Regions from separate parts of the Homo sapiens genome. Here region 1 is linked to region 2. Evidence: promoter capture Hi-C in 16 types of primary human blood cells and fetal thymus (Javierre and others, 2016). All regions are on one chromosome and are shown on one strand. The core of a region is centred on a gene start or on the middle of the fragment in contact, and the rest is flanking DNA. Distances in the headings are between cores, read along the strand shown.

Region 1 (3,610 bases), core at 338-2,837, 140 kb before region 2:
AATTTTGGTATATTGCATGTCCATTTTCATTTGTCTCGAGATATTTTTCAATTTCTATTTTAATTTCTTCTTTGACCAATTGGTTATTTAGAAGCATGTTGCTTAATTTCCACATATTTGTGAATTTTCTGAAATTTCTTCTCTTACTGATTTCTAGTTTCATACCATTGTCATTGGAAAAGCTACTTGATATGCTTCTATCCTCTTAAATTTGCTAAGACATGTTTTATAGCCAAACATATGATCTATCCTGGAGAATATTGCAATGCACTTGAGAAGAATGTGTGTTCTGCTGCTATTGTACGGAATATTCTATAAACATCTATTAGGTCCATTTGGTCTAAAGTGTAGTTCAAGTTCAATGTTTCCTTATTGATTTTCTGCCTGGATGATCTATCCATTGTTGAAAGTAGGGTATTTAAGTCCCCTGCTATTACTGTATTGCAATCCATCTCTCTCTTCAGATTTATTAATATATTTGCCTTATATATTTAGGTGCTCCAATGTTGGAACATACATATTTACAATTGTTACATATTTGATGACCGTTTTATTATTGTATATTGACTTTCATTGTCTCCTTTTACAGCTTTTGACTTAAAGTCTATTTTATCTGATATAAGTATAGCTACTCTCACTCTCTTTTGGCTTCCATTCGCATGGAATATTTTTTTCCATCCCTTTACTTTCAATTCATGTGTGTCCTTACAGGTGAAGTGAGTTTCTTGTAGGGTGTGTATATTTGGTCTTCTTTTCTTATCCATTCAGCCACTCTATGTCTTTTGATTGGGTAATTTACTCCATTTACATTCAAGGTAATTAACGATAGGTAAAAACTTACTACTTCCATTTTATTAATTGTTTTCTGGTTGTTTTATAGATCCTTTGTTTCTTTTTTCTCCCTTGATGTCTTCTTTTGTGATTAGATGATTTTCTCCAATGGTATGCTTTGATTCCTTTTTATCTTTTATGTATCTACTATAATTTTTTGCTTTGTGGCTACCAAGAGGCTTACATAAAACATCTTATAGTCATAACAGGCAATTTTAAGCTAATAAGAAGTTAATGTTAACTACATAAAATAACTACACTTTTACTTTATCCACTCCCACATTCTGTTTTTGAGGTCACAATTTACATTTTTTATACTGTATATCCCTTAAAAATTATTGTGACTATTATTATTTTTAATACTTGTTTTTTAACATTCATACTAAAGATATAAGTGATTTACATACCACCATCACAGTTTTATAGTGTTCTGAATTTGACTGTGTACTTAATTTTACCAGTAAGCTTTATTCTTTCATATGTTGTGTTACTATTAATAATTAGCATCCTTTTTGCTCTGCATGAAGAATTCCCTTTAGCATTTCCTGTAAGACAGATCATGTGGAATGAACTCACTCAGCTTTTGTTTACCTGGAAAAGTTTTCATCATTCTTTTATTTCTGAAGGACAGCTTTGCTGGGTATAGTATTTTTGGTTGATAGGGTTTTTTTTTCCCTTCAGCACTTTTAATATATTATCCCAATATTTCTTGGCCTGCAGTGTTTCTGCTGAGGAATCCACTGATAGACTTTTAGGAATTCCTTTATAGATGATTTGCTTCTTTCCTCTTCCTGTTTTCAGTGTCTTCTTTTTATTTTTGATTTTTGACAGTTTGATTGTAATATGTCTTGCAGTCTTGTTTGGCTTGAGTCTAATCAGAGTCCTTTGACCTTCCTGTACCTGGATATTTCTTTCTCAGATTTAATTTATTTTCTGTTATTATTTCTTTAAATAAACATAAATTTCTCTCTCTCTTTCTTCTACTTTAACTCCTATAACTTGAACATTTGCTTTTTTGATACTGTTCCATAAATCCCATAAGCTTTCATCATTCCTTTTCATTCTTTTTTCCTTTTTCTCTTCTTGTTGCATATTTTCAAATAATTGTCTTTGAGTTTGGAGGTTCTTTCTTCTGTTTATCAATTCTGCTGTCAATGCTCTCTATTGCATTTTATAATTTAATTCATTGTATTTTTCAGCTCCAGAATTTGGTTACTTTTTCATAATTTCAATCTCTGTTAAATTTCTTGTTTTGGTCATTTATTGTTTTCTTGATTTCAATGAATTATTTCTCTGTATTTTATTGAAGTTTGCTATACAACTATTATTTTGAATTATTTATCAGGCAGTTTATATATCTCCATTTCTTTAGTGTCAGTTACTCATGTTTTATTTTCTTCCATTGGTGATGACATGTTTCTCTGATTATTCTTGATCTTTGTGGCCATTTGCTGGTGTCTGCTTATTTTAAGAAGTGGAGACTTATTCCAGTCTTTGCAAACTAGGTTTGTTTGGGAAATCCTTCACCAGTCAGCATGTCCAGAGATTCTGGGCAGTCCATCTAGCGTGGCCTGTTGGCGTACTTGCTGCTGGTGTCCTTGGGTGAGTGGGCCTTGTGCCTGGGTTCGCAAGTGGGAAGACCTGGTGCCTGGGTTCATAAGATTGAGCTTGGATCCTGGATCCACTGAGGTAGATGTATTGATTGGGTCTGCAGAGGTGAGCCTGGAGCCTAGGTCCAAGGGCAGATCTAGAGCCTATATCCATTGGGGGTGGCCTGAAGCCTGGTTCCATAGTAGCTGATCTGAAACTAGGGTGAGCCTTAAGCCTGAGTCTGTAGGGGCTGGCTAGGCCATGGAATGGGTCGGAGACTGGGTCCACTAGGATAAGCCCAGAGCCTGTGTCCATGGGGACTGACCTGACACTGGGGTAGACCTGTATCCTGAGTTCATGGAGTTTTGGGTCTATGGGGGCTGGCCTAGAACCTGGGTATTTAGGAGTAGTCCTGGAACCTAGGTCCATGAGGGTCAGCTTAGCACTGAGGTCAGCTGGGACAAATCTGGCCCTTACATCTGCTGGAACATGGGACTGCAGGGGCCAGCCTGGAGTGTGGGGCCACAGGGATCAGCCTGGCACTAGGCAGGACTGAAACCTGTGTCTGTGGTATCAGCCTTGTGCCTGAGATGTACTGACCTGGCACTGAGATGGGCCTAAGGCATCAGGCTGTGTGGGCTGATGTGGCTTTGGGCTGACCTTAAACTAGCGCGGGCCTGTAGCTTGGAGCTGCAGGAGCTAGCCTTATCCTGGGCAGGCCTGGAACCTATATCTGCAGGCCAGCCTGAAGGCTGAGTGCTGGCCTGATGATTAGGGCTGTAGGGGTTGGCCTAGTTCTGAGATAGGCATGAAGCCTGATGCTATGGGGCCCAGCCTGATGCTGGGTTGGGGGGCATCCAGAGCCTGAGACCACTGGGACTGGTCTGACCCTGGAGTAAACCTGAAGATGGAATCTTCAGGGTAGGCCTGGAGCCTGATCTGTGAGGGCTGGCCTGGCACTATAGTGAGCTCAAAGCCTGAGGCATGGGGGCCAGCTAGAGGTTGGGTCAGACTGGAGCATAGGGATGTTAGGGTTGGCTTGGAGATTGAGACTGGGGAGCAGACCTGGAGCCTGGGAATGTAGGATCTGGCCTGGTGTCAGTGAGAGGTGACAGCATGCTGGCAGTCCTCACAGCCCTCGCTCGCTCTCAGTGCCTCCTCTGCCTGGGCTCCCACTTTGGCCGCACTT
Region 2 (3,921 bases), core at 1,335-3,834:
CAGTGCCCAGTATTTGCCTGCTGCAGAGTAAAGAGCCCCAAAATATAAGTTGAATGAACAAATGAATACATGAATGAATTTATGCAAATTCATGTTGTGGACCCATGTTTGCATATTTGTACCATTTGATGACATGAGCAGGGCAGAGTGTGCTGCTGTAATCCAGCACAGCAAGCAGAACTACAAAAGGTGCCTCTCTTTGGTTGGCCAAGTGCTGGAGTTTGTAAAATCAAATGTGGGTGTGAGGTAAGGGTACCCGGCATGAAGACCCTTGGGGTACTCTGAACCCCAGGGTGTGGTCTAGATGTTACCACAGCTTTGTTGCACCCGCCTCAGATCAGTGCTTATCTCTCTTGGACCTTAACATCCTCATCTATAACATGATGGAATAACACTTCTTTTTCCTTGCAGTTCTTAAATTCTAACATTTTAGGAAGATATCTGGACCCTGAAATCTTGTCAGGAACAACCATGGTAAGATCTCTGACTATAAAGTAGAAAACAACTAAGTTTTCAGATATATATATGCATAAAATACAGCTTTATTTTAATAAAACCTTAAATGTAGGGGGACCTTCTTGCCAGATCCAGGCCAACTAATGGCTTTCCTTCAGCTTTTCCCATACTCAGAAGTCAGGTTTCCAGGCCTCTGTGAAAAGCACATAAATATTCTCAGCCAGGGCTGGCCCTTTGCTTCAATCTCCAGCTATCACAGGGAGTCAGTCTGATAAACATTTGCAGTTAGAATGGAAGGAGGCACAGCCTCCTAGACTTTTACAGATTTTTTTGGACAAGTAGCAGAGTCACAGAAAACCTAGAATTAGGTAAGAAAGCAGAACTCCTCCAGAGAATTCAGAGAGAGCTACAACTGAGAGCCTTTAAACAATCAATGTGTAGGAACAGAAGAAAGGAAATCCACAATTCAAGAAAATAAGCAGACATTTTTTTTCCTCAAAAAAAATTGTTAAGATGAATGTTAGGCACTGATTTTAGCCCTCTGTTCCATCCCTCAAGATGTCACTTGAAAAAGCAAAAGGTTTTATCCACAAAACCACCGGCGAGTAAACAGCCTTCACATTCTTAGCCTCGTACACACACAGTAAGATATTTACTCTCTGATAAACAGCAATTGTAAATAAATCTCATTTAATCTCTAAAAGCCACAATAAAAATCTTTAACCTCCAAGGTAGAGTTTACAGATGCGTCTGCATGCCCTGCCAGCCCCAGAAAACACAAGGTCTTGAATAAACTACTATACCAGGAGGCACATTTTCTCGCTCAAGCATCTTACATTGACCTTCTTTAAAACAAAAATACGTACAAGGAGGAGGAAAGGGGAAAACCCAACCCCTCCCACCCCATTCTCTGTACAAATCGGCCAATAAATCTAACGAAAAGACACAAGAGAAAAAGGACAGAAGCCAACAGGTGGAACAAGGCTTTTTGTTTCCTTAGAAATGCTCAGACACTTGATCTGTGCTCCTCAGTCTATTTGTCTCAGGGTGTCTTTAATGATGTTTTTATTACCCTGATGATGATGATCAAGAATAATGATAACACTTCTACTCTGTGATTCCACAGCATCTCTAGCTGACGATTTCTCCACGCGTTTCAGACACAGTGATCTGTTCTGTTTCGCTCAATCCCAGGGAGGCATACAGCATCCCTGATCAGCAACCTTGATTTTACAGATGGGGAAATTGAGGCACGGGGCACCCCACAACTCAACAGTCTCTACGACCAGAGGAATCCCTGAGACTGGAAAAGTTTCTGGATCGTCTTGTGGCAGAGTTCTCTTGCTCTCCCTTCTTGCCTGCCATGCCGCTCCTCCTCGGAGAGTCTGGGCTGGGGTGGTAAGGATCGGGGTGCCTCCCCTTCACAGCGAGGCACGCCAGGGCAGTGTGTGGGAAGTCCACACGCACACACAGACCCACGGGCACACTGGCACACACAAAGCTCGATGCAATCTCTGCAGTCACTCGGCGGAGCCCTGGCCGGCCCTTGCTCAGCCTGAGAATGCACAGCTCGGAGCCTGCAAGGCCTCCCTGGGCTCTGGGCTGGGGTTTCCCTGAACCAAGGCTCTGCCCTTCTCTCCCTCTTTTCCAGGCTTCCCTCTCTCGCGCTCCCTCTCTCTCTCTCTTTTCCCTCCCACCCTCACACCCTCCTCCCAGCCCTCTCCATCCACCCCTTCTCCCCCACCAACCCAGAGGCACAGATCGTGTTACTGGGGTTCCCTCGAAAGAGGGGCCATCCCCAGTCCTGGATGCCTTGAAAGACTTCCAGGGGCAACGCAGGAGCTCCAATCGCAGGACCCCAGCGCTCCTCCAGAGCAGCGCAGGAATGAGACCCCCACTTCCAGGCACAGGCGAACAAGCCTGCCACCGAAGAAGGAATTGTTAGGGCTCTTACCTTTTTTATGAGGAGAAATTCTGGAGAATCATTTCAGAAACTGAGGGGGGAAAGTGAATGAAGACAAAAAAGACCCTTTTCCCGCAATCCCTGGCCTCCTGGTATCAAGACACCAGGACAACATCAAAGCAACTTAGGGGGAACACTTTAGGGGCCTATTGTCTGCTCTGGTCTGATCTGTTTTTCTTCTGACTCCCCCTCTTGCTGCGGTGACACTTGGTACGGCCCAGGCATTCATGCCAAGTAGCTTTCACACATGGAAGCTTGTCTCAAGCAATTGCTGACAAGCCACAAACAAGACATTCTCCCTCCCTTCTCTGCGCCCCCCCACTCCTCCCCCCTCCACCTTTTCCTCCTCCCCTCTTGTCTCCCCTCCTCCTTTCTTCTGAATGCAAACTAAAACTCTCCAGTGACAGGCAGGCTCGCAGGCTTGGCCTAGCTGCGCACGCAGGCACACACACACACACACACACACACACACACACACACACACACACTCTCTCTCTCTCTCTCTCTCTCTCTCTCTCTCTCTCTCTCTCTCTCTCTCTCTCTCTCCTCTCTCTCTCTCTCTCTCTTCTCTCTCTCTCTCTTCTCTCTCTCTCTCAAGCAGCTCAGCTAGTTGCTGCTGCACTGGTGGAGTTAAGAGACAGGAAAAAGCCCAGGCTGAGTTGGGGGCAGGGAGAAAAAGAGAGGGAGAGCGAGAGCAGAGAGCCGCCTCCTGTGTCCTAGTAAAATGGCAGAAGAGAGGTGAGTCCTTTGGAAGAAAAGCAGTGGCCACACACGTGTGCACACATACACAGACTCAGGCCATCTCAGCGCCAGGAAAAGTGAAATAAATGACCCGACAAAGGAAAAAGCAAAGTCCCATTAGCTGGAGATTGGGGGAGTAGGGAGATAAGAGGGTGAGTGGCCCCAGGACTGGGGTTTCTGTTGAGTGGTTAGGTGATTTTTCTTCTTTACAATAGAGAAAAATTTGTTTCCTAAGGATCTAGCCTTCTTTCACTGCATAATTGAGCATGGACTTGAGCTACTAGTTAAAATAAAATCATGAAATGTGTAAATGTGTGAGTAAACTTAACTGTAGGTTCAACTTGTACCCAAGATATTTTTAAAGTGAAGCTTTTTTTATTTTTTTTTATTTTTTATTTTAGCAGAAACCCTAGAGAGCAGTAGCAAGGAGAGTAGTAACAAGTAGTGTAAACTAGGAGAGCTGTGAAGTGTGATGCTAAAGTTACTGATTGCCAGGCTGCTGGAATTTATGGAGGGTGGGCCTGAGAGTTGGAGGAGGGGAGGGTGAGTGTGCTGTTTTCTAGGAATAAGAGGGGAATGAGGTAGGATAATGAATATGGCAAGAAACAAGCAGGAATTTGATTGGTGTGGAGGGAGGAGGTGGGGGCTGTAAAGGAGTGGAGAGAGAGAGAGAGAGAGAGAGAGAGAGAGAGAAACAACACTGCATTAAAAAAAGAAGAAAAATGGAAGCCCAGAAAGATTGAAACATGCAGAGTAAATGA

The links. The method cuts DNA at HindIII sites, captures the fragments that hold promoters and counts their contacts. A CHiCAGO score of 5 or more calls a contact.
Region 1: a fragment that was not itself captured here is called in contact with the fragment with the promoter of BCL9 in region 2 in 2 of 17 cell types (fetal thymus and naive CD4 T cells); the score reaches 5.3 in fetal thymus.

What each region holds. Positions count from the first base shown.
Region 1 is chr1:147,681,245-147,684,854 of GRCh38, reverse strand. No RefSeq gene overlaps it. Among named protein-coding and RNA genes, the nearest start is that of ACP6, 13 kb to the right of the region's middle. The HindIII fragment of the contact is 577 bases long and covers 1,299-1,875 here.
Region 2 is chr1:147,540,164-147,544,084 of GRCh38, reverse strand. BCL9 (BCL9 transcription coactivator) reads right to left here and starts at 2,584. Exons shown (of 10, transcript NM_004326.4): 1 at 2,411-2,584. RefSeq lists enhancers at 2,539-2,598, 2,159-2,913, 2,632-2,926. The HindIII fragment of the contact is 5,169 bases long and covers 1-2,675 here.